4 separate regions of the Homo sapiens genome follow, and all the other regions are linked to region 1. Evidence: promoter capture Hi-C in human tissues and cell types (Jung and others, 2019). All regions are on one chromosome and are shown on one strand. Each heading gives the region's core, a stretch centred on a gene start or on the middle of the fragment in contact. The rest is flanking DNA. Distances are from core to core; before and after follow the strand shown.

Region 1 (5,210 bases), core at 2,558-5,057:
TTTTAATAGAGACAAGGTTTCACCATGCTGGCCAGGCCGGTTGCAAACTCCTGACCTCAGGTGATCCGCCCACCTCGGCCTCCCAAAATGCTGGGATTACAGGTATGAGCCACTGCACCCGGCCGGTTTCTTTAACAATATATTGCAAAGAAAAAAAAAAGAGAGGGAGAGAAACCTATAAAGAAAGTTAACACATAAGTGAATGTATATATGTGTGTACGTATGTATATTTCTATATATTTATATATGTATGTATATTTCTATATGCTATGTGTATATTTCTTTTTTTTTGAGATGGAGTTTTGCCGTTGTCGCCCAGGATGGAGCGCAACGGCGCGATCTCGGCTCACCGCAACCTCTGCCTCCCAGGTTCAAGCGATTCTCCTGCCTCAGCCTCCCGAGTAGCTGGGATTACAGGCATGTGTCACCACGTCTGGCTAATTTTGTATTTTTAGTAGAGATGGGGTTTCTCCATGTTAGTCAGGCTGGTCTCCAACTCCTGACCTCAGGTGATCCGCCCGCCTCAGCCTCCCAAAGTGGTGGGATTACAGACGTGAGCCACCACGCCCGGCTATATGTATATTTCCTTTTTTCTTTTTTTGAGACGGAGTTTCGCTCTTATTGCCCAAGCTGGAGTGCAATGGCACGATCTTGGCTCCCTACAACCTCCGCCTCCTGGGTTCAAGCGATTCTCCAGCCTCAGCCTCCCGAGTAGCTGGGATTACAGGTGCGTGCCACCATGCCCGGCTAATTTTTTGTAGAAACGGGGTTTCACAATGTTAGCCAGGCTGGTCTCGAACTTTTGACCTCAGGTGATCCGCCTGCCTCAGCCTCCCAAAATGCTGGAATTACAAGCGTAAGCCACCACAACCGGCCCTGTATATTTCTATATACATAAATGTATGCTTTATATATGTATGTATATCTTAAAATACATACATATATGCATATATACACATATATAATATAAACAATTACAAAATGCCAACTTCGGATGATGATTCAAAAAACTAAAAATGTAAATAATTATGCTAAAGTGGCATATAAAAATAAATGAAATATCTCTGAGTCAAAGAAATCTGAACACTGACTAGATACTTCTTAGGTGTGGTAATAATATCGTAGTATCTATTTTTGGAAAGCTCTTGTTTGTTAGATATGCACACTAAAATCTTTGTGGTTCAAATAATATGATATCTTGGATTTTCTTCCAAATAATCCTGTGAGAGGAAAAATGGGTAGCTGTATGAATAAAACAAGATTGGCCATGACTTGAAAATACAGGTTGAACATCTCTAACCTGAAAATCTGAAATGCTCCCAATTCCAAAATATTTGAGCACTGACATGATGCCACTAGATGAAAATTCCACACCTGACCTCATATGATGAGCTGCAGTAAAACCTTTGCTTCATGCACGAAATTATTTTAAAATGCTGTATAAAATTACCTTCAGACTATGTGTGTAAGGTATATATGAAATATAACTGAATTTCATGTTTAGACTTGGGTCCCTCCCCCAAGATATCTCATTATGTGTATGCGAATATTCCAAAATCCAAAATGAATCTGAAATTCAAAACGCTTCTGGTCCCAAGCATTTCAGACGAGAGATATTCAAACTGTAGTTGAAGTAAGGTGATGGGTTCATTATACCATCCTTTCTACGGTTGTATAGGTTTGAAAATTTCTAAATAAGACAGTTTAAAAAGTCGCAAATAAAAACCTAAGGAGGAGGGGTGTGTTAGGTGACTTGATCAGTTAGTGACCTTAAAGCTAACCCTAGATGCCAAGTCTACCTCCTTAGTGTTCTCAGGGCTCTGAATCAACTTATTAATAAAGGGAGAAATATGAACATCAGTAATGTAACAGGGCACAAGGCCTCAGCTGAGTGGTTTCTCAAAAAATTATTAAATTGGTCAGGCATGGTGGCTCACGCCTGTAATCCCAGCACTTTGGGAGGCCGAGGTGGGTGGATCACAAGGTCAGGAGTTCGAGACTAGCCTGGCCAATACAGTAAAACCCCGTATCTACTAAAAATACAAAAATTAGCTGGGCGTGGTGGTGTGTGCCTGTAGTCCCAGCTGCTCAGGAGGCTGGGGCAGGAGAATCGCTTGAATCCAGGAGACAGAAGTTGCAGTGAGCCGAGATTGTGCCACTGCACTCCAGTCTGGGCAACAGAGCGAGACTCCGTCTCAAAAAAAAAAAAATTATTAAATTGATTTGAATGCAAGGTACAAATTTTTTTTTTTTTTGATACAGTGTCTCACTCTGTCACCTAGGCTGGAGTGCAGTGGCAGGATCATGGCTCACTGCAGCCTTGACCTCCCAGGCCCAAAGGATTCTCTCACCTCAGCCACCCGAGTAGCTGGGACCGAGTAGCTGGGACCACAGGCGACGCCCGGCTAATTTTTTTTTTTTTGTAGAGGCGGGGTTTTGCCATGTTTTCTATGCAGGCTGGTTTCGAACTCTTGAGCTCAAGCAATCTGCCGGCCTTAGCCTCCCGAAGTGCTGGGATTGCTGAGAATTAATATGTATGCACTGATGATCCTCTCAACAATCCAAAGCAGTAAAACTATTACTTCTGTTTGTGAGTGTGGAAACCGAATTTAGGTAACCAGACAGCTCAAGGAATAGGGCTGCTTTGAATGACGATTATCTTCTAGGCAATTTGCAGCAACGTCAAAGGGCAGGGCCAGTAACAGGGTGGGGTGAGGTCTCAAAAAATTCAGTAATCAAAATGAATAACATTAATGCAATATTTTTTAAAAAATTAAATCAATAATCTACAGCTCATGAGGTAAATAATATGCCCGCTTTTGTAAATAAAGTTTATTGGAAACAGGGATGGAATTAGGGTGAGGTGATTGAGGCAAGGTCGTGCAAATGACTGGTCGGATCTCGTCTTTGTTTAAACGTCTGATATTTTGTTCAATATCAAATCATAAAAAGTTTTTGCATTAATTTTGGTTTTTTAAAAATATTGCATTAAAATATGAGTTTGATTGAGGGTTTTGGCGCCCCTTTAAATTTTGCTCCTAAGGCGGGAGTGCCTTGCCCGAATCCGGCCCAGAAAGGACACAGCTCTGGAAACATCTGTTTTCTATGCCCAATTTCGCCAGGGAGCTGCCAGCCACCAGCCAGGAGCCCCAGCGGTGACTTCCCCACTCGGGGCCCGGTCGGAAAACGCAAAGGGCCTGCGCGCGATGACCTCCAGGGCCCCTCCCAGGCCCAGTGTGGAACTCCCTAACACCCTCGCTCGCCCTCTCTCTGCGGAGAATCCCCCCGCACCGCTGCGGCCGGGTTCGGCTAGAGCCTCCCGGCTTTCAGAGCACCCTGAGGGGAGGAGCTTCCGCGACAGGAAACGCGCCAAAGGGGAGGGCTGGCGGCAGGAACCGGCTGAAGAGGGGCTGGGCTGCCGGCAGTGCGCGCCGCAGAGACCTGGAGCTCTCCGGCCACGGAGCCCGAAGCGCGGGAAGCCCGGCGGCGGGACGGGATGCCCGGTCGGAACCCATCCCGGCCGAGTCTCGAGGCCGCGGGAGCCGGCGCGGCGAACGCCGGGAGCCGCAGTCCTCCCGCCCGGGCGCCTCGGGTCAGCGGGGTCTACCCCGGCCCCACCTAACCTCTCGGTGCCCGGCCTTCTAAGCCCCCGTGGGGGGCGTGTGCATAAACTCACCTCAGAACCCACCTCGCCTGTCATGACTTCTGCCTCCCCTGCGCTCCACTAGGGACGGAGCTGTCTCTGATTCCCTCAGCCGGAGAGCAGCGGCTCCCGCCGTCTCCAGCCCAGCAGTGCTGTTCTTGCTTTCCCGCCCAGCCAGAGTGGAGGTCCCACCCAGATGGTTTGCACCAATCCAGAGGGGGCTTTCCAGCGAGTCCCCGCCCCCTTCCGACCCACCAATCACGCAGCGCCTCTGGCCGCCCAATCTCCTATTACCCAGGCTGAGTTGGCGGGTCGCAGCTGCTGGTAGCGGAGCCTGGGGGAGCTGGAGGTGCACGGGGGCGGGGCAGTCGGTACCAGGCGAGCCGTGGTCTTTGACCTTTGACACTTGCCAAAGCATCGAGTGCGATTGGAGGGGTGAGTCTTTCGGGGGGAAGTGAGCTGGGAAACGGTTCCTGGGCACCTGGGAGTGTCCTGTACCTGAACTTTTTAGAGGAATTCCAAGGTTCCCGTGGGGATTTTCTCCACTGACTTCATTTCTGGAGCAGCTAGATCCTGTGTGCCTCTTGTACATGACACTTACCACTGAATATATATATATATATATATATATATATATATATATATATATACACACACACACACATATGTACACACATATATACATACACATATATACACATACACATGTATGTGTATACACACACACTTTTTTTTTTTTTGAGATGGAGTCTCCCTCTGTTAGCCAGGATGAAATGCAGTGGCGCGATCTCGGCTCACTGCAACCTCCGCCTCCCGGGTTCAAGCGATTCTCGTGCCTCAGCCTCCTGAGTAGCTAGGATTACAGGCACCCGCCACCAACCCCTGGCTAATTTTTGTATTTTTAGTAGAGACGGGGTTTCACCATGTTGGCCAGGCTGGTCTCGAACTCCTGATCTCAAATGATCCTCGCCTCGGCCTCCCAAAGTGCTGGGAGGCCTCATACCCCTCACAGGCGTGAGCCACTGTGCCCGGCCCACTTTTATTTTTTAAAGAGGGCCGGGCTCCATGGCTCACGCTTGTAATCTCAACGCTTTGGGAGGCCGAGGTGGGAGGATGGCTTGAGTCCAGGAGTTTGAGGTTAGAGTGAGTTATGATCGCACCACTGCACTTCAGCGTAGGCGATAGAGGGAGACCTTGTCTCTAAAGAAAAAAGTTTTGTGGGCTGCTCAGATACCAAAGAATATGGTTGGATAATCTTTATAATTCTCTGTAGAGTTAATTTGAGGATGTAGAAAGCACTCATCACTCCTAGAGGGCATTCTACCTTTAAACAAGGCTGGAAAAAGAATTGAAGCTCTGAAATCAGGTTTATCCCAGACACAGTTCTTTTTTTTTTTTTTTTTTTTTTGTTGAGACAGAGTCTCTCCCTGTCACCATGGCTGGGTGCAATGGCGTGATCTCGGCTCACTGCAACCTCCGCCTCCCGGGTTCAAGCGATTCTCCTGCCTCAGCCTCCTGAGTAGCTAGGATTATAGGCATGTGCCACCACGCTCAGATAATTTTTTGT
Region 2 (5,045 bases), core at 2,087-4,586, 140 kb before region 1:
AAAACAAAAACAAAAAAACGCCAGGCACGGTGGCTCACGCCTGTAATCCCAGCACTTTGGGAGGCCGAGGCGGGTGGATCACGAGGTCAGGAGATCGAGACCATCCTGGCTAACACGATGAAACCCCGTCTCTACTAAAAATACACAAATTAGCCAGGCATGGTGGTGCACGCCTGTAGTCCCAGCTATTCGGGAGGCTGAGGAAGAAGAATCACTTGAAACTGGAAGGTGGAGGTTGCAGTGTGCTGAGATCATGCCACTGCACTCCAGCCTGGGTGACAGAGCGAAACTCCACCTCAAAAAAAAAAAAGCATTGCACACTGGTCTTCCTTGGTGAGTATCCTGAAGCAGCTTCACAGAATAAAGTTTGAAAACCACTACATCAGGCTGGATATCTTTTCAACTTATTATTTCTACTGTTTACTTGCTAAGCATTTACAAATAAATAGGTAAAAAGATAAATTACCAAAGGCTCATGAAACACTTCGGAAAAAGTTCTAATGAAAACTCTTTGGCCAGTGTGGCAGTGAAACCCGACGATTACACATCATGGAGGCCAGCATCCTACTCTAAGCCTTGCCACAAAATTTCACGTTCCCAAGGACACCAGATTTGCCTGGTTTATACCTGTCTCTCTATCTGTTAAATGGAGATAATTTTAGGGCATTCAGATGGGCTACATCAAATATGCCACATAATTCATTTTAAGTAAGAAATAGGCTGGGCATGGTGGCTCATGCCTGTAATCCTAGCACTTTGGGAGGCCAAGGCGGGTGGACCACGAGGTCAAGAGATCGAGACCATCCTGGTCAACATGGTGAAACCCCGTCTCTACTAAAAATACAAAAAAGTAGCCAGGCATGGTGACGGGCGCCTGTAGTCCCAGCTACTCAGGAGGCTGAGGCAGGAGAATGGCATGAACCCGGGAGGTGGAGCTTGCAGTGAGCCGAGATCGTGCCCCTGCACTCCAGCCTGGGTGACACAGTGAGACTCCGTCTCAAAAAAAAAAAAGAAAAGAAATAGCCCCATAACTCATCATCCTCTGACATTAGTCAAACTGTAAGGAGAATTTGAGAAAGGAAGCCTTTTTTTTAGACAGAGTCTTGCTCTGTCACCCAGGCTGGAGTGCAGTGGCATGATCTCAGCTCACTGCAACCTCCACCTTCTGGGTTCAAGCTATTCTCCTGCGTCAGCCTCCTGAGTAACTGGGATTACAGGTGTGTGCCACCACATCTGGCTAATTTTTTGTATTTTTAGTAGAGATGGGGTTTCACCATGTTGGCCAGGCTGGTCTTGAACTCCTGGGCTCAACTGATCTGTCCATCTTGGCCTCCCAAAGTGCTAGGATTACCGGCATGAGCCACTGTGCCTGGCCGAAGAAAGCAAGCCTTGAGCATAGTATAAGCCCTTTTTCTGCTCTTTGGGGTCTAACCAACAAGAAGAGACCATCTTAAATGTATACAAGCATTTAAATAAACAACTAAACTGAAGGCTTCTGAATTTTTTCCCCATCTGTCTTTTTTCGTCTTCTGATGATTTCATGCCTTTAATTCCTATACAAATTAACATCCATTTATTAAGAATACTTCTTCCGGTATTCCATTCATTAAGAATTCCCTTCCAGTGTATAAATGCATAATTAATATTCTCAGCAGAATATATAGACCTAGCTGGATGACACTTTTTCAGCAAACACTTATTGAAAACCTACAATGGACATATATTCAAACTTATCTATATAATACTATGTGCAATTTCGACATTTTAACAAAACTGAACATTTCATGTTTCCCTAAATGCACAAATACACTTGTACATTAGTCCACTAATTAATAAAGAAGACACCATGAAAGAGTTTGATATTTGAAGCTGGAATCTTAACCTTTAACATAGTATATATGTGCTTTGGAAACATATCTAAGAGAAATACTTAACATCCTTGTAAGTAAAATGGGGATAACACACATCTTATGGTGTCATAATAAGGATACTTAATAACAGATACATATGTAAGTATTTAGAATAGCACTGTCCAAGAGAACTTCTATGATGATGGATATGTTCCAGATCTGTGATGTCTAATACAATAGTTGTGGCTATTGGGTACCTGAAATGTGGCTGTGACTGAGGAACAGAATTTTTTTTTTTAAGAACAAAAGTTGATTTAGCATTCAGGCAAAGTCTACCAGGAGATTTTCCACCAGAAACTGAATTTTAAGTTTTATTTAATTTTAATTAACTTAAATTTAAATAGCCCCATGTGGCTAGTTGGCTACCATACTGGACTGTGTAGATCTAGAAAAATCCTAGCACATAATATATGTTCAATGTTATTTTACTTCTATTTTCCCTATCAATACCAGCATGGTGGCTTGGCGCCTGTAGTTCCAGCTATTTGGGAGGCTGAAGTGGGAGTATTGTTTGAGCCCGGGAGGTTGAGGCTGCAGTGAGCTGTGACTGTGCCACCTCTTAGGTGACAGAGCGAGACCCTATCTCAAAAAAAAAAAAAAAAAAAAAAAAGCACAACAAATGATCCCTCACGAAAAACTAACTTATAGCCATTAAATTGCTTCTTTGACCAAACAGCAATCGCAGCATAAAAACACAAGTGGGCTGGGCATGGTGGCTCATGCCTGTAATCCTAGCACTTTGGGAAGCAGAAGCGGGAGGATTGCTTGAGCCCAGGAGTTCGGGACCAGCCTGGCAACATGGAGAAACCCCATCTCTACAAAAAATTAGCCAGGCATAGTGGTATGCACCTACAGTCCCAGCTGCCAGGGAGGCTGAGGTGGAAGGATCATCTGGGCCTGAAAGGTCAAGGGGCTGCAGAGAGCTGTGGTCATACCACTGCACTCCAGCCTAGATGACAGAGTGAGATCCTGTCTCAAAAAAAAAGTAAGAGCTTTGCATTATTACCTTATTTAATCTTCATAATAACTTTTTGAAATTGGTAAGTAGGGAAATTAAGCTTAGAATTTGTCCAAAGACATCCAGCTAGTAAGTCAGTAAGCAAATATTCAAACCCAGGTAGTCCAATTCCAGAGACTATGCTCTTAACCACAATGCTAAATTGCCTACATTTTAATGAACCAGTTTATGTAAGATTCATTATATACTCAGTGGTAGTAAATGTCCTCCCAACCAAACCACCACACATACACAGAGCAAATTAGAAATCAAACAATTTGAGCTACAGACACAGAAGTTATACATGGTAACTGGCTGACCCAAAATGAGTCACATCTGCCAACTGGTGTGACCATATAAATATACTAAATTTGGTGACTTTGCACTTATTAGGAACACTGACAAACTATCATCTCTCTTCCCAGAATAAGACGACTAAAATATAAATTCATATTTTAGAACTAAGAATCTATTTTGATAAGGAGATGGGGGAGCAGAGATTGGACCTACTGGAAAAGCTCAGGCAGAGGTAGTCAATATTTACCAGAGCCCCATGTCACTGTCTACAAGGGATATTTGTTAAGACATCAAACATTTCTGCTAGGAGAAGATTAAACCAGATTCACTGCATTTGCATGAAGCACACTGCCATTCTTATCTCAATTCCAAAAAGGAGCTTAATTCACTTAATGTCTGTGATATTTATGACACAGTATTTATTGTGCCCAAAGCTGGAATTCTTACTCCGGTTCTGCCTGATAAGTCAGAGGAACATCGTACATGGCAAGTCATAAAATGCTGAACACCACAGGAACTTCTGGGTGACAGAAAAACTAATATCTGACCCATTTTCCTTTCTCAAGGAGGAGTGAAGAAAAGACCACTTGGTGACAATGACTTTCTTGGAAGAAAAAAAAAAAAAAAAAAATATATATATATATATATATATATATATATATATATTTTTTTTTTTTTTTTTAAAGAAAAGACTACTGATCTTTCACCCAGGACAAAACAATGTATGTAAATTTGCCTCCTCCTCTCAATCCTACATGTCTCTAGCTTCTCTTCAAACTTCATGATCCCTCAGATTGTACAAGCCCTTGGTCAAAGCTAGCACTGAGAGGTACTATTTATTGAGAAATTATCAGTCAAAGATTATTAGGCACTAGAAAATAAACTGCTTTATAGATCTGTAGTAAGTAACTTTAAAAAAAGTAACTTGTTATTTTAAGCAAGTACAGATGAAAACTCAAACCATAATAAAAATATGAATAGCATCAGTGTTCTAGAAACACTACTGAAGAACCAAAGGCAGAATAGTCAAATAATTATGGCACCATTATTTTAGCTTTGTCTGACCTGCTGTGTGACCTGGAGCTAGTCCCTTTGACACTTTATGCCTTTCACTTCATCTCAGTGATAGAGACTATCTTTCTCAGTGGAATAGTGAGTAGATTAAATTATTAAGCAAAATGCTTTGGGCAAAAGTCACATGAATGTTAAATATTATGATTTACAAGCATTCATTTTCCTGGCACCCCTGTGGGGTTAGGAAGTTATCTCCATTTCATAGATAAGTAAACAGGCACAGGGGGTGAGATCACGTGGTAAGGCTCTATTTATTTAGTCCCTGTGGGAAGGGAATAACACACACCTTTAGCAACCATATGAACTTTCCTAGCACATCCTACACAATCTTTAATGCATTCAATCCTTAACTTAGTGTTGCATCTTTTAACATGCTGTCGATGAAATGGAGACAGCTCTAGAATAGCAACAAGGCTAGAATAAGTAAGGAGGAACAATGCTGTATGCTTTGGGAAAAAGTCATAGAAAAACACAGGTAAGTACGCCAGGTACAGTGAGTGGCTCATTCCTATAATCCCAGCACCCTGAAAGGCCAAGGCCAGCAGATTGCTTGAGTCCAGGAGTTCAAGACCAGCCTGGGCCACATGGTGAAATCCTGCCTCCACTAAAAATACAAAAAATTAGCCAGATGTGGTGGTGCACACCTGTAGTCCCAGCTACTTGGGAGGCTGAGGTGGGAGAATCACCTGAACCCGGGAAGTTGAGGCTTCAGTAAGCTGAGATCACACCACTACACTCCAGCCTGGGCAACTGGAGTGAGACCCCGT
Region 3 (5,114 bases), core at 2,244-4,743, 240 kb before region 1:
TTGGGTAGGGCACTTTGGCTTTGATTCTGGATGCATGCGGCAGTGTAGTCTCCATACGATTTCTTCGGCAACGAACACCATCCAGCAACGAACACCATCAGTGGCATCTGTGATTTTCTCAGTGGCTTAGGCTACAGTTGTTAGTGGGCAGCATACTTGATTGGCATGGCAACAGCAGCAGCAGTGCGCAGGGAAAGGCTGTCCTCAGGGTGCGTGAAAGTGTGCAGCAGCCCTACTTGTGGGAGACAAGAGGGAGGCAGGGCTGCTGTCTGTAATAGTCACCCCAGGCAGGTAGGTTTCAGGCTCTGGGGAGCATAAGCTTCAGCTTCTGGCAGCAGCAGTGGCTGTAGCAGCTGGCAAGGAGATCCTGTCCTCATGGCACATGAAAGTACATGGCAGCCTGCTGCTGAAGGGTATGGGGTTGCTGCTAGTGACAGTGGCCCCAGGCAGGCAGATTTCATACTCTGGGGAGCTTGCACTTTGGCACCCTTTGTCCTGGGAGCAGCCTCCCTGATACACTACACTGCCCTTTCCCTGGTATACAGGACATTGTGTGGACCCTGTGGTTCCTCTGGGCCCAACCAGTGTCTTGCTGCTAGAGCCCTCTAGGCAGATACGAGGGAATGTCAGGGGGGCTCCAGGGATGTAGAGAGGCAGGGGCTATTGGGCCCCAGGGCAGGATACAGTTTGGTGAGAGCTGGACTCTCAAAATGGTCCTGTGTCCCACTAGGGACCTGGGGGATGCGTGGGACTCAGTGTGCATTCCCTTTCTGGAGCAATGCCATCACACAGGCTCCAGGGATCTCCCTCTGCCAGTATCAGGGCCCACAAGGGTCAAAGCACTCTCTCGTGGCTAGGATTACAGGAGGTGGTGAGAACGTGGACTGTTGGGGATTGCTCACTTATTCTGTCTCCACGTTGGGAAGCCCCTCTGGCTCCCAGCCAATCTTGCCTGGGTTATCCACCTCGCTTCCCTCTCCCTCAGTGCCTCATGTGTTTTCTGTCACTTCTCTACTGAATTCTATACCTCTAGTCGGTCATCTTGAAAGACTCGGGCCCTTATATCTTCGACAATGACTACAAGTAAAAAATGTGAGGCCTAGGAAAAAGCTAGCTTCTATAAAAGAAATGTGAGGCCCAGGGGAGGTTAGCGGGCTATAGTGTTGCTAATAAAACTAATCTCAATGGTTTCCAATAAGAGGAAGAGGTAGGCCTGGCGCGGTTGCTCAGACCTATAATCCCAGCACTTTGGGAGGCCAAGGCAGGCGGATCACTTGAGGTCAGGAGTTCGAGACCAGCCTGGCCAACATGGTGAAACCCCAACTCTAAAAAAATACAAAAATTAGCCGGGCGTGGTGGTAGGCACCAAGTAGCTGAGGCAGGAGAATCATTGAACACAGGAGGCAGAGGTTGCAGTCATCAAGATTGTGCCACTACACTCCAGCCTGGGCGACAGAGTGAGACTCCGTCTCAAAAAAAAAAAAAAAGAGGAAGAGGTACTCTGATCTCTCAGTTCACATGTTTAATTCGTGGGATTTTGACTGAGTTTTTAAAAATTAAATGTTATTTAATGTTGTTACATCATGTGTTCAATAATAAAAATACGAAAAGAAAAAAACAGTTCTTTTTCATCCATTCCCTGAATCATAGTTCTTTGTCTTAGGTGGTTAAAAGACAGTTAACATCTTAAATGATTCTAGTTTCAGCTCTAGGTCCATCATTTACCAGATAGTTAACCTTTGAAGAATAATTTAACTTAAGATTAAATTTTCAGTGTTGATACTCTTGGGACAAAGAGTTCATAAAAGGAGGAAGCAGAAAGGCATTGGTAGAGTCAATATTGGATTCTAGAAGTAACTGGGATAAAAGGTAAGATGAAAATATACTCCAATTTTAGATCAGTTCCTCTCCCTGCCCACGCTGCCATACCCTGGCTCTGCTCCCAGGGCCCAGGCAAAAGCAATATTAAATCTTTACAAAAAATGGCTTACAGTTGGTAGAACCTTAGACTGAAAATCTTTTGGGAAAGTCTGGAATGCACTGTTGGTAGGAGCATGTAGAAAGCTTACCCAGGGTGAGAACAGTGGAGCAAAGCCAATTCCCCTCTTTCTAAAATCATAGCAAAGCAGAGAAAGCAGTGCTCCCATATGTATTACCTGGAGGATCCCCAAAACAGGAGGCTCTGGAACTAGCAATGCTTACTTACATCACCACCTCTCAAAAGACAGAATTCTAATATATCTGGCACAAAATCTAGACCAGGTTTCATAATTCCAAGTAGCAGAGTGGAAAAGTCTACAGGATATATGAATTATTGCCAGAAGGAAATTCATTAAATACTTTTAGAAAGCTGTGAACAACTCTGGAAATATTTAAAGACAGTGCTGTTGGCTCTGGCATTCTTAAATCTCAGGTAATAAGCTTGGCTTCTCAAGCAAACTTGAAAACTGCCCTGGTTAGCAACCAAGTAGGGAGCAGAGACAGAACGTCCCCTGTTTCAGGAGTCATACTGTTAGTGTCCAGAAATGTAAATTCTAACTAAATTCATCAGACTGTATCCCAAAGGAAAGGCTGTGATGGTGGAAATAAGAGTAGAGAGAATGAGCTACCAGTATTATTTCAAAAAAGAAAAAAAAAGCAGTTGATAAATTCTTCTCTTCGGTGGGGTTTTCGCTGCAGAAACAAATACATGGTTAGAGTATTCTGTAGAAAAAATTTGCAATTAATATTTACCGTCATTGAAGCTAAAATTCTTTTCTTGAAATCTCACAATTTTCTAATATGGTCAAGACTTCATTCAAAGCTTTCCCTTGATAATTATACCTATAAATGAACTATTATCAAGGAGAAAGGCACAGCCTTAAATTTGTCTCTTTATTCAGTAATTGAACTATGGCTCTACACCATCTGTCTTCCTACAGCTATCATCAAAAGTATGCATTCTCTCAGAAGCAATGGGTCTCAGCCAAGATGGCTGCCACATGAAAATGAGATAAGCAGGCACATTATCAATCCCAAAAACAACTCACAGGAACCGTTCAAAAACAAACCTCCTCAGGGGGCACCCTCCACCTCCCTTTTGACTGTCAGCATGTCTGTCACCTGCACACCCACTAATAAACAAATACAAAAAAAATGGTTCCACCTTACTCTCCACATCAGTTCTACCCTGCAGGGGTTAGCACATTCAGAAACAAGGCAGAGGAGGTAACTAAATCCTTTGAAGGACACAATCAGGTATTACGAAGTTTGAAAAAAGCCAAGGTAATAACCATTGCCCTCTCTCCTCCTTTTCAAAAGGGGTAACATTTTTTTCCTCAACTACACACAGGTTGGATTGAAAGGTGGCAGCTGCCTCACAAAGCAGTCCTTTGAAAATAATTACTACTCACTGCCTTTGCTATGTGCCTAGCTTTGCTAAGAGTACAGTTTTTTAAATGTATGGTGTAGATGATTTGCTGAAACTACACTAACTGCTACACAAGAATTAATAGGCTTTGTGTACATATTCTGACTTCTTTCCCTTCACCGTGGTATTTCCATTTTTCCTAAAGATCATTCTGAACAAAAACAAACTCCTCATGGAACTACTTGCCCAACAGATACATATCAGCTACTATTCACACTAACTCTTGATTATCTGCTAGATGGAAAACAAGCTTCCAAGGACTCAATCACAAAACCTGAATCTTGCAGTACTTTGCTGGTTAAGAATGCTTACAACAGCAAGTCCTTTCCTATAACACTGTCACTAAAAAGCCTCAAAGATACTGGATTGTGACAAACTGTTGAAAAGAATAACAATCGGTGGCCGGGCGCAGTGGCTCATGCCTGTAATCCCAGCACTTTGGAAGGCCGAGGCAGGTGGATCACGAGGTCAGGAAATCGAGAACTTCCTGGCTAACACAGTGAAACCCCATCTCTACTAAAAATACAAAAAATTAGCCGGGCGTGGTGGCAGGCACCTGTAATCCCAGCTACTCAGGAGGCTGAGGCAGGAGAATGGTGTGAACCTGGGAGGCAGAGCTTGCAGTGAGACGAGATCGGGCCACTACACTCCAGCCTGGGTGACAGAGCGAGACTCCGTCTCAAAAAAAAAAAAAAAAAAAAAAAAAGAAAGAAAAACAATCACAAGGTCAGGAGTTCGAGACCAGCCTGACCAACATGGCAGTCAAAAAATCAGCCAGCTGTGGTGGCGCATGCCTGTAATCCCAGCTACTTAGGAGGCTGAGACAGGAGAATCGCTTGAACCCAGGAGATGGAGGTTGCAGTGAGCCAAGATCACACCACTGCACTCTAGCCTGGAAGACACAGCAAGACTCCGTCTTAAAAAAAAAAAAAAAAAAAAAAAAAAAAGAATAACAGTACCCAGTACCAGAACATCTCCCTAGAAGAGGGCAATATTTATAGGCAGAAGAGTAGGGGAAAGTCCTTTTACTCTACCTACTTGAAACAGAATACTTATACTTCACAGGCTAAAGAAAATATGAAAACCACCCTCATTTAGTCTAGGTGAGAAAATAAATTCATTCCCCAAGGTAATGTTCATACATGTCCCTCATAACATTGAGTTGAAATTTGTTTTCAAACAAAATCCCCTATCAAGATCAACAGCCCTATTCCACAATTGCTCTCTTCTATCTTTTGGCCCCCACCCCAAAAATCTGTGGTTAAAGCTTTAGTTCCTAAAGCTGAGATTCCTGCATTTGAATCTCAACCCAGTCACTTCCTAACTGTGTCATCTTGGGTCAAATTCCTTAGTTTTTTCATGTGTAAAACAGGAATAATTTTAACAGTACCTACCCTACAGAGTTATTAAAGATATAAAGGAGAAAATATATGCAAAGTACTTAACATGAGCCTGGCATATAGTATTAAAAAGCTCAGTATATATTAGTTGCCATTATTTATGTTGTTGTTGTTATACTTCATTTTAGCTCGGCCACCACTTTTTCCAGGAAGGCTTCTCCCATGAAACCTTCACCCCAAGATGCCTCTCTTCTGTGCATCCTACATATACCTCTATCATAGCATTTCTCTCACCAGATCATATTTGTTTGTCTACCTCACACACTCTGCCCTCTTTAAGTGCTGGGGTTGTATATTGTATGTGT
Region 4 (5,363 bases), core at 49-2,548, 150 kb after region 1:
TGCACACGCTCTGTCTCTATCCCAGCACCTGCCTACTATGCCCGCCTGGTGGCTTTCCGGGCACGATACCACCTGGTGGACAAGGAGCATGACAGGTGAGGCCTGGGATCAGGTTGGCCTCCTTTTTGCTTCAGCCTATTGTGCCAGATCTTCTTAACTTTCCTTGGGTAGAAGGAAATGAGTGCTGTCCAATTTGGTGTCATTGGGCTCGTCTGCCCAATCCTGGGTTGGGTTTCTCTCTTAAGTTGGTATGGGAATTGGCATCCCAGGGCTGGGCGAGGGAATTAGCAGCAGCTCTCAGTTCACCAGGAAGGACTTCTTTCATTTTTTCCTTTTCAGTGGAGAGGGGAGCCACATATCGGGGCAGAGCAATGGGCGGGACCCCCAGGCCCTGGCCAAAGCCGTGCAGGTTCACCAGGATACTCTGCGCACCATGTACTTCGCTTGAAGGCAGAACGCTGTTACCTCACTGGATAGAAGAAAGCTTTCCAAGCCCCAGGAGCTGTGCCACCCAAATCCAGAGGAAGCAAGGAGGAGGGAGGTGGGGTAGGGAGGAGTGTAGGATGCCTTGTTTCCTTCTATAGAGGTGGTGTAAGAGTGGGGAACAGGGCCAGCAAGACAGACCACCAGCCAGAAATCTCTGATATCAACCTCATGTCCCCCACCCCTCACCCCATCTTGTCACATCTGGCCCTGACCCCACTGGACCAAAAGGGGCAGCACTGGTGCCCACCATACACACAGGTGTCTCATGTGACTCACAGTGCTAAAGACTCATGCTTGACAGCTTGGTAAGGTCAACTCTGTAGCCCTGCAGACAAAAGCTGGTTAGGTTTGGGTTTGATACTTTAGATGGGAAAGTGAGGGGCTTGAGAAAGTGGGTGGGAGGAGGGAAGGATTTTTTAGGAGCCTTAATCAGAAAAGGACTAGATTTGTTTAAGAAGAAAAATGAAACCAGACCCAGATCAATATTTTAGGATACTAGATGTTTTAATGGGTTCAGAATCCAGTTTGTAGGAAGATTTTTTAATGGTTTTGGTTGCTCCTCCCCCAGCTGCCACCCCCCACCTTACCCTTATTCCTCTCTGTCCACATTTTCTGCCCCACCTTACTTCTCCTCCCTGACAGACATCCAGCCCCTAGTAATACTTAAGGCACTATGGCACTTAGCTTTGAAGTGACACGACCCTGTCTTCCTTCCGCCCGCTGGTGGGTAACCAGTGCCTTCCCTGTAACGGTAATGCTGCAGAACTGCAACCTTTTGTACCTTTCTTTGGGGAATGGGGTGGGGGTGGGAGAGGAGGTAGATGGGGAAGAAATACCCCAGACCCAACAAACCTCCAGCCAGAAAGCCAGCTATTTTGCATTTGAAGGAATTGACTTCCTCATTCATTGAGCTTTTTAAAAGATCACAACCTCAAGATGGTTAAAATCCATTGACATTTGCACTTTCAAACATGACAAGTCTCGGAGCTGCTGAGATGACAGGCCCCTGGCCTTTCCACTTATGCCTCCTTTTCTCCTTATTCCTCCTACCTCCCGCCCCGCCCAGGTCTGGAGTTACTTTCATAGCATTTTTCACTCTTGGCTTCTTTTCTCCCTTGATGGTCAAGTCTCTTATGTTTCAATATTTCTTAACTGGGGTGTCTTATAACAAAAAACTCTTAGGTCTAAAATGAGAAAAAAGAGAGAAAACAAAATGTTATTTTTATACCATAACTTGAGTGTATTGCCAAAATTTGGAAATCCTTCCCATGCCTGATGAGTTTATATCCCAGAAACATTGAGCCATCAGAATGAACTGTGTACCTGATTTGTTCTCTGACCTGGCTAGGTAGGGAGGGGGTGGTTATCGCCCCAAGATGGGGTCCAGGCTCCATCCTTCCTCTGTGCAGATAATACCTTTTTCTTGCTATAGCCTCCCTCCTCTGCACTGTCCTGCACTCTTTCTTGCAAGTGCATCTTTTTCCTTCCCCTGGACTGTCCTCTGACCCTTTGGCTCATCCTAGATTGCAGTGTGTCCTGTGGACAGGCTGGGGAATTTTGCTGCTCCCTATTGCTTCTGTTTACAAAAATGAATTTTTCCTGGTTTCCCACTAGGGCATGTGGGTGGGTGGCATGGACTTTTTTTTTTTTTTTTTTTTGTCTTGAGACATGGGGTTTGGCTGTCTTGCAGGACTGGAGAAGGTGGTGGTTCTAGCTTGGTCTCTGTTGGCCTTGAAGCAAGCATCCCCCCTGCCCTTTTTCCTTGACTGTTCATTTTTTTCCTGCCCCACTGCTTGGGATGGGGAGTTGCAACTTCAGTGTGGAATTTCCTCTTTGAGGAGCCTGGGCTTGGATCTATCCTGATCTGGTGATGAAGCCATGATTACTTTAGACCTAGCCCAGGCTTGGAGGCCAGCTGGAGGAAGAAGGGTCTAAATCCTGGCCTGTAGAGTTAGAACTACCATTTCCTCCCCTTAGCTGCCCTTGTATGACCCGGATTTGCTATGCAAAACAATCTATCCCAGGTTCTGTTCTGGTTGGCTACATTGTTCAGCAACTCACAAAACGTAGCACAAACATTCATTATGGAGAAAGCATCAGGACTGTTGAGTAACTCCTCCTTTACTTTTTTCCTGCTGGCTACAGCATGGGGTGCCCTATAGGCACAAGCCCAGCTGAAGAACAGAATGGAGGGCTCTGGGAGGAGGCAGCTCACTGGAGAGCCTACATTCCTTACACAAGTGCCTAAAGAGAGTGATGCTAACACTCCATCTGCCCTGTCCATTGCCTTCATATACAGTCTACTTCGTGTTCTGTCACCCTTTGGGGAGGGGAGTTCTCCTGGGACAGTGGGCTCTGCATGTTCTCCACTTGGATACATTTTGGGGCTAGGATCAGGGCACTATTCCTGGAGGGTCCAGTCATTCACCAGCATTTGCAAATGTCCATAGGGAGCAGGTGGCAGCCTCTACTCCCAGCAACAAGTTTGTGTTCTCTCCTTTTCTCTCTTTGCCTCACTCTCTCCAGTTGGTTTTCAGCTGGGGCTTGAAATGCATTTTTAGCCCTTTGACGTGGCTTATGCCATTCAAGAAATAAAAAGCAAGAGAATCAGCTTTGGGCAATGACAAGAAATGAGTTCTTACTCTGATTTTTTTGTAAAAAGATAATTTTTGAGACTTGAAAAATACCCCGACCTTGAGATTATTCCTGTTTGAAAGGTGGTGCATGCAGATGGAGAAGTGGTGTTGGCAGCAAGCTTTGGCTCATGTGGATTTGGTTTAAGTGGTGCTTCTTACCCAAGCTTCAAGGAAGTGCTTGGGGGACCCCCAGCCTCATCCTCTTAGTTGGGTCTCTTGTTCCCTTTGTACCACTGTTTTGCCTTCCTTTTCCTCTTCTCTCTTTGCCTGGCTTCCTTTCCCTTTTCTTCTATTCACTCTGCTTGCTTGCTGGCCGGCCTGCCTGCCTGCCTGCCTGCCTGCCTGCCTGTCTGCCTATGTGATGATGAAATCTCTGCATGGCTGCAATGATCCCACTGTTAGCTGGCAGGGTCAGGCTTAGCTCCTTGACTGCAGAAGACCAAGAACCTGTTCCCCAAGCCCAGAGATGTCCACCTGGGCTGGACTGCCCTCAAGCTTATACTAGAGAAGAGCAACTGACCTGCCCAACTTGTGTGAAGTCAGGAGGGTTTCTGGCATTTTCCACACCTGTCCACTCCTTGGAGCTGGTTTCTCTCATTGCTTTTTCTAAATCTGGTTCTTTTTCTCTTTACCTGGGGCCTGGCTTTTCTGAGATTGTCTTAGGGTTGAGCTATTTGGGTATCCTGGGTTTGAGTGTTAGGGGATGGACATAAAGGAAAAAGAGTGATGAGAAGAGAATGGAGAGAATTTGAATAAAAGGTGGGAAAGGAGAGCACTGTTCTTTGATTGTTTATCCAGTCCAACCTGATCCATTAGGGATCGAGGTGCTACACTGGCCTCCAGGGATAAGCCTGGGGCTACTGTTGCTGGGAACTTAGGCTTAACATAAAGCCGAAGAAGGTACCTAGAAATTTGAAACTTCCCTAAAAAGCTCCTAATGCCCACCTGCTAGATAGCTTCTCTGTGGCCTCCTATTTAGCTAAGCAGCAGTGTTTTTGGATACTTTTTTTTTCTGTTTGTGAATAAGGCCAGCACTCAAGATGGGCAGCCAAGGGTGCACTGACTATTAGCTGGCCCATAGGATATCTGTAAGGCTGGTGGGACAGTTTTGGACCTGGAATCATGTGTAACTAACAAGGTTGGACGTTTCTTCCCCATCAGGGTAGAAAAATCATCTCAAACTAGCCAAAAGGCAGTTTTGGAAACTACATTGGGGGACGTTATTTTTATTTATATATGGGGCCTAGGCCAATCCAGGATGGTAGCTGGAATACCTTCCTTCTTAAAATCTGATCATGGCAGGGATATGCAGGGCACTTTTTACTATTTGGCCTTCTAAGCAGATTGGGAAGGAGGTATTTTCTGGTTTTCGCTTTCCTCCGACTTAATAGGACTTGCCTTCTCCCTGGGCAGGGAGAGAGGCTGGGTTGGTGCTCTCCCTTACTCTACTCATACTGACTTAGAGCCTCTGGCTGCTGTTTGGGCATCCAAGAAAGGGAGGGGAAGGAATGAGCTAAAAACAAAACAGAATGAGGTGGGAAAGGGAGATTTTCTTCTTTACAGAGGAAAATAGGAAACCCTCCAAGAATTGTGCAAGTAAAGACATTTGTTGAATGCACTGAGTCCCTTGGTGTAGTAGCAATAAGGAAAAATGAAATTACTTTCCTGTGCACACAGTCCAGCCTAATTGGTATGTGATGTTGCACTTAGCAGCCATGTGGTGGGCATGTGTGACTACTCTGGTTTTCACTTTAGTTTCTAAACTTTTTATCCCTCTCAAGTCCAGCATGGATGGGGAAATGTCTCTGGATCCCCACAGCTGTGTACTTGTTTGCATTTGTTTCCCTTTGAGATTTGTGTTTGTGTCCTGCTTTGAGCTGTACCTTGTCCAGTCCATTGTGAAATTATCCCAGCAGCTGTAATGTACAGTTCCTTCTGAAGCAAGCAACATCAGCAGCAGCAGCAGCAGCAGCACAATTCTGTGTTTTATAAAGACAACAGTGGCTTCTATTTCTAAAGTGCGGTCTTTCTCTTTTTTTTTCCTACCAGCAAAACAAACTTTTGGGACTGATTACATCTCTAATAGATTTTAGGTGAGAATAATACTGTAGATTGTTATGCAGGAATACTTCACAGAGCCTTCATTTATTCTTCATTCAACAAACATGCAAAGCACTGTGCCAGCAGTATTGTGGGGAGGGGAGGCACAATTCAAAATGAGGAAAATAGTGTCCGTCTCAT

Evidence for each region. The method cuts DNA at HindIII sites, captures the fragments that hold promoters and counts their contacts. A contact is called where the count stands out against the background at its distance.
Region 2: a contact is called between a fragment that was not itself captured here and the fragment with the promoter of CLSPN in region 1, in 2 of the 25 tissues and cell types used here (liver and neural progenitor cells).
Region 3: a fragment that was not itself captured here is called in contact with the fragment with the promoter of CLSPN in region 1 in 3 of the 25 tissues and cell types used here (dorsolateral prefrontal cortex, heart left ventricle and pancreas).
Region 4: a contact is called between a fragment that was not itself captured here and the fragment with the promoter of CLSPN in region 1, in 2 of the 25 tissues and cell types used here (bladder and thymus).

The regions. Positions count from the first base shown.
Region 1 is chr1:35,766,171-35,771,380 of GRCh38, forward strand. CLSPN (claspin) reads right to left here and starts at 3,808. Exons shown (of 25, transcript NM_022111.4): 1 at 3,677-3,808. The coding sequence starts at 3,700. It overlaps CLSPN-DT (CLSPN divergent transcript), which reads left to right and starts at 3,925. Exons shown (of 3, transcript NR_199050.1): 1 at 3,925-4,078. RefSeq lists a silencer at 3,421-3,650. The HindIII fragment of the contact is 25,943 bases long and covers 1-5,210 here.
Region 2 is chr1:35,624,763-35,629,807 of GRCh38, forward strand. All of the region lies in intron 3 of PSMB2 (proteasome 20S subunit beta 2), which reads right to left. Among named protein-coding and RNA genes, the nearest start is that of PSMB2, 14 kb to the right of the region's middle. The HindIII fragment of the contact is 9,137 bases long and covers 1-5,045 here.
Region 3 is chr1:35,530,769-35,535,882 of GRCh38, forward strand. All of the region lies in intron 2 of KIAA0319L (KIAA0319 like), which reads right to left. Among named protein-coding and RNA genes, the nearest start is that of KIAA0319L, 24 kb to the right of the region's middle. RefSeq lists enhancers at 128-629, 630-1,129. The HindIII fragment of the contact is 4,604 bases long and covers 1,192-5,114 here.
Region 4 is chr1:35,919,160-35,924,522 of GRCh38, forward strand. It overlaps AGO1 (argonaute RISC component 1), which reads left to right. Exons shown (of 19, transcript NM_012199.5): 18 at 1-95; 19 at 340-5,363. The coding sequence ends at 448. Among named protein-coding and RNA genes, the nearest start is that of AGO3, 9.3 kb to the right of the region's middle. The HindIII fragment of the contact is 4,306 bases long and covers 1-3,451 here.